Linked DNA regions of Homo sapiens: region 2 is linked to region 1. The links are contacts of gene promoters, found by promoter capture Hi-C in blood cells and fetal thymus (Javierre and others, 2016). All regions are on one chromosome and are shown on one strand. The core of a region is centred on a gene start or on the middle of the fragment in contact, and the rest is flanking DNA. Distances in the headings are between cores, read along the strand shown. Region 1 holds the start of CALR3 (calreticulin 3). Region 2 overlaps SMIM7 (small integral membrane protein 7).

Region 1 (4,304 bases), core at 715-3,214:
GTTCGTAATAGTTTTGTTTTGTTTTGAGACAGGCTCTCACTCTGTTGCCCAGGCTGAGTGCAGTGGTGTTATCATGGCTCACTACAGCCTCGACCTCCCGGGGTCACGCGATCCTCCCACCTCAGCTTCCTGGGTAGCTGGGACTACAGACACACATTGCCATGCCTAGCTAACTTTTTGTAGAAACAAGGTCTCACTGTGTTGCCCAGGCTGTTCTCAGATTCCTGGGGTTCTAGAGATCCGCAGCCTCAGCCTCCCAAAATGCTGAGATTACAATCCCACATCATCATACCTGGCCCCATAATATTTATTACTCCTAGTAGACTAAAACGGAAAACAATGTAACTATCCATTAATTAGTGAATGGATTACAAACTATGGTCCATCCATACAGTGTAATACAGTTCAGCAATTTAAAAAACAAATACTAATATAACAGCACGCAGGAATCTCAAATACATCACGCTAAGGGAAAGTAGCCAAGCCGGGCGCAGTGGCTCACGCCTGTAATCCCAGCACTTTGGGAGGCTAAGGCGGGCGGATCACGAGGTCAGGAGATCGAGACCAGCCTGACACACATGGTAAAACCCCGTCTCTACTAACAATACAAAAATTAGCGGGGCGTGGTGTCATGCGCCTGTAATCCCAAATACTCAGGACGCTGAGACAGGAGAATTGCTTGAACCTGGGAGGCGGAGTTCGCAGTGAGCCGAGATCGCACCATTGCACTTCAGCCTAAGTAACAGAGCGAGAATCTGTCTCAAAAAAAAAAAAAAAAGGAAAGAAAAAAGAAAGTAGCCAGACACTAAACTCCACACACCCTATCATTTCATTTGTAAGAACTGTCAAGAAAAGGCAAACCAATAAACTCAGAAAGCAGATCGGGCCGGTGCTGTGACTCACGCCTATAATCCCAGCACTTTGGGAGGCCAAGGCTGGCAGATTACGTGAGGTCAGGAGTTCGAGACCAGCGTGGCAAACATGGTGAAACCCCATCTCTACTAAAAATACAAAAAATTAGCCGGAGTGCAGTGGCATGATCACAGCTCACAGCAGCCCTTGACCTCCTGGACACAAGCAATCCTCCCTCCTGCCTCAACATCCTGAGTAGCTGGGACTACAGGCGCGTGCCACTACACCTGGCTAATTTTTTATTTTTATCTTTTTTAGAGATGGGGTCTCGCCAGGTTGCCCAGGCTGGTCTGGATCTCCTGGCCTCAAGTGATCCTCCCGCCTCTGCCTCCCAAAGTGCTGGGATTCCAGGCGTGAATCACCGCGCCCGGCCTGACGCAAAGTTCTAAAGCTGGATGAGCTGGATGGTGGCGACGGCTTCACAACTTTGTAGATTTACTAAAAATAACGGAGTCGTCAGCTTAAAAGTGGCGAACACTATGGTATGTAAATGAAGGCTCAATAAAGTTGTTACAAATCAACAAACCAAAACTTGAAAACCCTGGCGCCCCTGAGACCATCCTGCTCTTCTCCCCAGCTATGAAGCGACCCGCGCAGGACCATGCTCCAATAGACCCCAGACAGGGAAACTGAGGCGCGGGACCATCCTGCAGCGGCCCAACCAGCTCAGCCCCGGAGAAGGCCCCATTTCCCCGTATCCCCCTCGCGAGCCCGGACGCCCAGCTAGGTCACCTCCCCACCAGCCCTGCCGACCTCTTCCCACGCCGTCCATTCGCAGAGGCAGCCGCCACATTCACGCCTGAAGGAGCGGTTGCCCTGGGCAACAGAGCCAGAGCAGAAGAGACTACATCTCCCGGGAAGCACCGCGCCCCGCAGACCAATGGCGCCCCGAATCACAATCGCGGGGTGTCATGGGAGCGGTAGTTCCGGGGCGGGCCCAACGTGCCCCGCGCCGCAGCGACCAATGGGACCCTCAGGTCATAATCGCGAGTTGTGACGGGAGTTGTAGTTTCGGGACGCGCCTGAAGAGCCGCAGAGAGAGCTGGGAGCTAAGGGGTGGCGGCGACCGGAAGCGCAGTGCACACCCCCATGGCCCGGGCTTTGGTCCAGCTCTGGGCCATATGCATGCTGCGAGTGGCGCTGGCTACCGTCTATTTCCAAGAGGAATTTCTAGACGGAGGTGAAGGGGCCACGCCCGTGGTGGCGGAGGTGTAAGCTCCCCCATCTCCGCCCCCTAAGGCTGGCCAGAGTCGCCACGGGGTCCACGGCAGCGAACCCTCGAATCCTCGAGGGTCCCCTTCACCCTTCCCTTAGCCCAAATTAACCATTATCACCTCTAACCGGTGTTATTTCCCCTTCCCCACAGAGCATTGGAGAAACCGATGGTTGCAGTCCACCAATGACTCCCGATTTGGGCATTTTAGACTTTCGTCGGGCAAGTTTTATGGTCATAAAGAGAAAGATAAAGGTTAGTGTAGAATCAGGACCAAATTGAGCCTAATGTTACATTTCCATAGCAACCTCTCTAGGTAGTTGTGGCACAGCCAAAACGCTTTTATTCCCGTTTTACAGATGAAGACATTAAGGCAAAGGTAGAACTTAAGGGGCTCCTTTCCTTGTTTTTTTGTTTCTTCTCTCCTTTTTTTTTTTTTTTTTTTTTGAGACGGAGCCTTGCTCTGTTGCCCAGGCTGGAGTGCAGTGGCGCGATTTCGGCTCACTGCAACTTCCACCTCCCGGGTTCAAGCAATTCTCCTGCCTCAGCCTCCCGAGTAGCTGAGACTACAGGCGCGCGCCACCATGACCGGCTAATTTTTGTACTTTTAGTAGAGACAGGGTCCACGTTGGCCAGGCTGGTCTCGAACTCCTGACCTCATGATCCACCCACCTTGGCCTCCCAAAGTGCTGGGATTACAGGCATGAGCCACAACATCCAGCCTCCTCTCTCCTTTCTTTATTGCCAAAGATTCCTTTTTTTTTTTTTTTTTTTTTTTGGTAGTAGGAGTCTCGCTCTGTCGCCTAGGCTAGAGTGCAGTGGCACGATCTTGGCTCACTCAAACCTCCGTCTCCCGGGTTCAAGTGATTCTCTTGCTTCAGGCTTCTGAGGAGCTGCGATTACAAGCGTGCGCCACCATGCCCTGCTAATTTTTTTAGAGACAGAGTTTCACCACATTGCCCAGGCTGGACTCAAACTCCTGGCCTTAAGTAATCCACCTGCCTCGGCCTCCTAAAGTGCTGGGATTATAGGCGTGAGCCATGGTGCTTGGCCTATTATCATTATTATTACTTTTATTGGTATTAGGTCCCCTGAAGTCCAAGGAGACATATTCAGCTTATTTGGTATAATAAAATCATACTTGAAGCACTGTCAAATATGCAATGGTATTTAACCTTCTTTGGATTATATTTATATGAATGTGTTATTAGTAGGCATTACCAAAATTGCCCCTCTTAATAGACACTAGTCAAGTGCATTTGAGGATCAAGGGCCATGCCCCTCAGAAGGAAAAGGTTAGTGGGTACTTTTTCTCATTTTAATTTTCGTATTAAAAAGAAAAATAGGCCAGGCGCGGTGGCTCATGCCTGTAATCCCAGCACTTTGGGAGGCCTTAGGCGAGCGGATCATGAGGTCAGGAGTTCAAAACCAGTCTGGCCAATACGGTGACACCCTGTCTCTACTAAAAATACAAAAATTAGCTGGGTGTGGTGGCTCATGCCTGTAGTCCCAGCTACTCGGGAGGCTGAGGCAGAAGAATCACTTGAACCCGGGAGGCAGAGGTTGCAGTGAGCAGAGATCATGCCCCTGCACTCCAGCCTCAGTGACAGAGTGAGACTCCATCTCAAAAAAAAAGAAAAATATGGTCAGGCACGGTGGCTCACGCCTGTAATCCCAGCATGTTGGGAGGCCAAGGCAGGCGGATTACTTGAAGTCAGGAGTTTGAGACCAGCCTGGTCACCATGGTGAAACCCTGTCTCCACAAAAATACAAAAAAGTTAGCCAAGTGTGGTGGCGCACAACTATAATCCCAGCTAATTGGGAGGCTGAGGCAGAAGAATCGTTTGTACCCAGGAGGCAGAGGTTGCAGTGAACTGAGATTGTACCACTGCACTCCAGCCTGGGTGACAGAATGAGACTCCATTTCAAAAAATAAAAGAAAAAAATACAGAGATAAACATTACATCTTGTCGCCTGCACATTCTTCAGGGTACAACACAATGAGCTTTTACTTTTGTACAGGCAGGTCAAGATAAGGCAAGCGAATCACTTGAGGTTGAGACCAGCCCGGCCAACATGGCGAAACTCCGTCTCTATTAAAAATACAAAAATTAGCTGGGCATGGTGGCACACATCTATAATCTCACCTACTTCAGAGGCTGAGGCAGGAGAATCACTT
Region 2 (4,421 bases), core at 128-2,627, 150 kb before region 1:
AAAGTCCAAGCTCGTGGTGGGTGGAAAAGTGTTCGCCGAGGTGTGCATGGTTTCCCAGCCACGTCCCTGTTTTCAAAGATAGTTTCACTTTGGTCTCTGAATTGAAATGCTGTCTACTGAAAGGGTTTCAGGAGCGTTTATGTAAGGGGCTGTGATGAAATTGCATTCCCCATAGATAAAAGAAAAATCATTTCTATCCAGAGATCTGAGCAGAAGGATTGGCTTGTTAGTTTAACACAGCCGTATTTTTGGACATTCAGTGTTACTTGCTGAGTCTGACAGCCTCTGGGCCCGGCCAGGGGCCCTGTTAACAAACTGCTTTCACATCCCAACAGGGTCTGCTTGGCCACTCAGTGCAGCTGCGATTAACCCTAAAGGCTTTAAGGAACGGGCCACCTGTAACAGAGACACCAGCCTTCCTGTATAGACACTAAATTGTTAGCAAGAGTGTTGAGCTAGTTCCTGGTGAAGTGTTTCCACAGAAGACATGTGGAGCAGTTGTGGGGATATTAAGGGAAACTTTCCTCTGCCTTGACCCCTTTGTTAAATAAAATGACTTTGGGAGCCATTCATTGTACAGTTGCAGGAATGAGAGTGATTTTATGATGTGGTACATTGGGACCATGTTCTAAAACCTTGGGTTTCTGAGTCTGCTTTTTGAGTAGGTGATTTTGAGGTTGAAAAACCAGGGGCCTTCATCTAGGAAATACAGCATTTTCCAGAAGCTTCTTTGAAAGGGAATCCTGGTTTTGTTGCCAAAATGAAACGCCCGGGGTTGGCGCTGAATCCCACAACTGTGTGATTTGCTTGTTGAGTTTTTTGTTGTCTGGTTTTTTTGTTTGTTTGTTTATACCAATAAGAATGAGCCTGAATGTTGGTGGTTTTTGAAATCCTGACTTGGAGGTAAACCTGGAGGAAGGAAAAAAAGTAAATATGCAGGCTTTTAGGACTGAGTAGCCTTGAAAATAAACCTCATTTCTAAAAAGGACCTTTTGTTTATACTTTTTTTTTTTTTTTAACCAAGAAGTCAATTTCCAACCTGAGTCCTTTTGAATTTACCCTGCTGGAAAAACCTAGGATTCATTTTGGAGGCCATGAGAAAGAAAAGAGTCAGTGGTAGAGTTTCCTTTTTGGATTTAGCTCAATAAATGATGGTCAAGAATTGGGCAAGTGGGGCTGCGCGCAGTGGCTCATACCTGTAATCCCAGCACTTTGGGAGGCCGAGGTAGGCGGATCACTTGAGGTCAGGAGTTCGAAACTAGCCTGGCCAACATGGTGAAATCGCATCTCTACTAAAAATAGAAAAATTAGCCAGATATGGTGGCACACGCCTATAATCCCAGCTACTCGGGTGGCTGAGGCACAAGAATTGCTTAAATCTGGGAGGCGGAGGTTGCAGTGAGCTGAGATTGAGCCACTGCACTTCAGCCTGGGTGAGACAATGAGATTCTGTCTCAAAAAAAAAAAAAAAAAAAGAATTGAGTAAGTGGAATTTTGACTGGAGCTGCTCCTGAAAGTATTGAAAGAGTCATTGCTAATGGTGGGCTCTTGCTAGACCAGGGTCAAGTCCACTTTTGCTGCCTCTCAGGTTGTGGAATTCTCCTTGATCACTTCTGCAATTCATTTCCTTGCCAAATCTCAGCCAAGCATCACCCCAAGGTCTGTAAGTAGCAGAGATCGGAGCTGCTGGGTCTGGCTTTGCTGAGGCCGGTGTCGCTGTCAGAACAGGCACGCCAAGATCTTGGCTGGGTCCCTCACAGGCCAGATGAATGGTGTGAAGAAACCTTCCTGCCTTATTCAGACTGGCGCGGAGGTCTCAATGAGGCGAGGCATTTGTCCATTATGGGGATGAATCGTGCTCTCAGAAGAGAATCCTGTCATTGAGGTTTTGTTTCAATAGTCCTCTTTTTCTCCAGAGAACTGTTGTCTCATTGTTAATAATAGCAGCGTGGCTTTTTCAGATGCTGGTTGGTGGCTGCTGTACATTTTAAAAATGGAATCTCATGGTTGTGTCTCTTAAGGAAGCTTTTCAAGAACTTTACTGGCACCAGAGGTTATCAGAGTTTGAAGTTTGGGTGCCTAGTGTCTCACAGTGTTTAAGCACTAATGTTCTGGGTCAGTTAGGTGTGAGTACAAATCCCATCTCAGCTCATTCTGAGAGGGACCTTGGCTAATTGCTTTCTCCTCTCCAAGCCTCAGTTTCCACATCTCTAAAATCGGCCTGCAAGTAGTGTGTGCCTAAGGTTGTTGTAAGTTTCAATGAACTCGAATGCGGCTGAGTGCCTGAGAGCACCTGTTGCTGTGGGTATCATCACCGTGTGTGTTTTCTGTCTTCTCATCCACTTTTCTTTGTGCAGTCTGCACACACACCATTAAAGGCTGATGACAGCATTTTTACGAATTGCAAACAGAGGCCAGCGCGGTGGCTCCCAGCACTTTGGGAGGCCGAGGCAGGTGGATCACGAGGTCAGGAGTTCAAGAACAGCCTGGCCAAGATGGTGAAACCCCGTCTCTACTAAAAATGCAAAAATTAGCTGGGTGTGGTGGCATGCCCCCTGTAATCCCAGCTACTCAGGAGGCTGAGGCAGAGAATTGCTTAAAAACCCAGGAGGTGGAGGTTGCAGTGAGCTGAGATCGTGCCAGTGCACTCCAGCCTGGGTGACAGAGCAAGATCTTCTGTCTCGGAAAAAAAAAAAAAAGTTACAAACAGACTGAGTGCAGTGAGAGGCTCACACCCTGCAATCCCAGCATTTTGGGAGGCCAAAGTGGGCAGGTCACCTGTGGTCAGGAGTTCGAGACCAACCTGGCCAACATGACAAAACCCCGTCTCTACTAAAAAATACAAAAATTAGCCAGGTGTGGTGGCGTGCGCCTGTAATCCCAGCTACTCAGGAGGCTGAGGCAGGATAATCACTTGAACCAGGGAGGCGGAGGTTGCAGCGAGCCGAGATCGCGCCATTGCACTCCAGCCTAGGCGACGAGCAAAACATCTCAAAAAAAAAAAAAAAAAAAAAAAACGCAAACAATTTCCAGCCTGGTAAACCTTTTCCTGTCTTCACCATCCCCATGCAGCATTTTCCATATTCCTGTATGTATGTTTTGAGAGTGGATAAGGAAGGATGAGTTCTGCTGTGTTCATTTCAGCATCATTTTCTTTACACTTGCTTTGTTGCTAGGAGGTGTTACAGTTCTCATTTTTACTTACGGTGCAGTGTCAGTAAATAGGTCCTTAGCCACCTTGTTGCTGGACTTGGATTATATTTTGTCCACTGTGATCAGGGCTGCCCCTGGCACCAGTGTTGTGATCTTCATTGGCTTCTATTGTGGCATTAGCTTCCTTGGGCAGATAACCATGGAGGGGTCCATAATATCCTTAAATACCATTGGTGTGGCTTTAAGTGGCTTTTGTTTGTTTTACTTTGCTTGAAAAAATTTTTTAGGCCTGGTACGGTGGCTCATGCCTGTAATCCCAGCACTTTAGGAGGCTGAGGTGGGTAGATCACTTGAGGCCAGGAGTTCAATACCAGCCTGGCCAATATGGTGAAACCCTATCTCTACTAAACATACATATATTAGCTGGGCATAGTGGCACATGCCTGTAGTCCCAGCTACTCAGGAGACTGAGGTAGAGGAATCACTTGAACTCGGGAGGCGGAGGTTACAGTGAGCCGAGTGGTGCACTTCAGCCTGAGTGACACAGTGAGACCCCTGTCTCAAAAAAGAAAAATTTTTTTTAAACTACTAATGCATATTCATTGAAGAAACTTATCAAATGCATACTTGCTAGAAGAGGAAAAATAAATCACCCATAGTCACATTCTCCGGAGACCATCACCCTAGGTACATATTCTTCCAACCTTTCTTCTGTGCATAATCATCTAGGTGTGGTGCTTACATTTTCTTTTGGCAGTGTTATCTTAGTATCTTCCAGCATGGTTTTCTCACCTGATACTGTAACCATACTTCCATATCCTCAAATGTGTTGTTTTCTAAAATAACTTTTTTTTTCTTTTTTTAGAGACAGAGTCTCACTTGGCCAGGTGCGGTGGTTCACGCCTGTAATCCCAGCACTTTGGGAGGCCGAGGCGGGTGGATCACGAGGTCAGGAGTTCGATGAAACCCCGTCTCTACTAAAAATACAAAAATTAGCCAGGTGTGGTGGCGCACGCCTGTAATCCCAGCTACTCAGGAGGCTGACGCAGGAGAATCTCTTGAACTTGGGAGGTGGAGGTCGCAGTGAGCCATGATCGCGCCGCTGCACTGCAGCCTGGGTGACAGAGTGAGACTCTGTCTCAAAAAAAAAAAAAAAAAAGATAAGGTCTCACTCTGTTGCCAAGGCTGGAGTGTGGTGGCGTGATGAGAGCTCACTGTAGCCACGATCCTCCCACCTCAGTCTCCCAAGTACCTAGGACCACAGGCAT

The links. The method cuts DNA at HindIII sites, captures the fragments that hold promoters and counts their contacts. A CHiCAGO score of 5 or more calls a contact.
Region 2: a contact is called between a fragment that was not itself captured here and the fragment with the promoter of CALR3 in region 1, in 5 of 17 cell types (M1 macrophages, M2 macrophages, erythroblasts and 2 more). The highest score is 6.1, in M1 macrophages.

What each region holds. Positions count from the first base shown.
Region 1 is chr19:16,493,827-16,498,130 of GRCh38, reverse strand. CALR3 (calreticulin 3) reads left to right here and starts at 1,964. Exons shown (of 9, transcript NM_145046.5): 1 at 1,964-2,092; 2 at 2,279-2,380. The coding sequence starts at 2,002. It overlaps C19orf44 (chromosome 19 open reading frame 44), which reads right to left and starts at 1,737. Exons shown (of 9, transcript NM_032207.4): 1 at 1,666-1,737. RefSeq lists enhancers at 1,635-2,064, 1,699-2,199, 2,200-2,700. The HindIII fragment of the contact is 8,057 bases long and covers 1-4,304 here.
Region 2 is chr19:16,642,715-16,647,135 of GRCh38, reverse strand. SMIM7 (small integral membrane protein 7) reads left to right here. Exons shown (of 5, transcript NM_024104.4): 5 at 1-988. Among named protein-coding and RNA genes, the nearest start is that of SMIM7, 15 kb to the left of the region's middle. The HindIII fragment of the contact is 1,300 bases long and covers 728-2,027 here.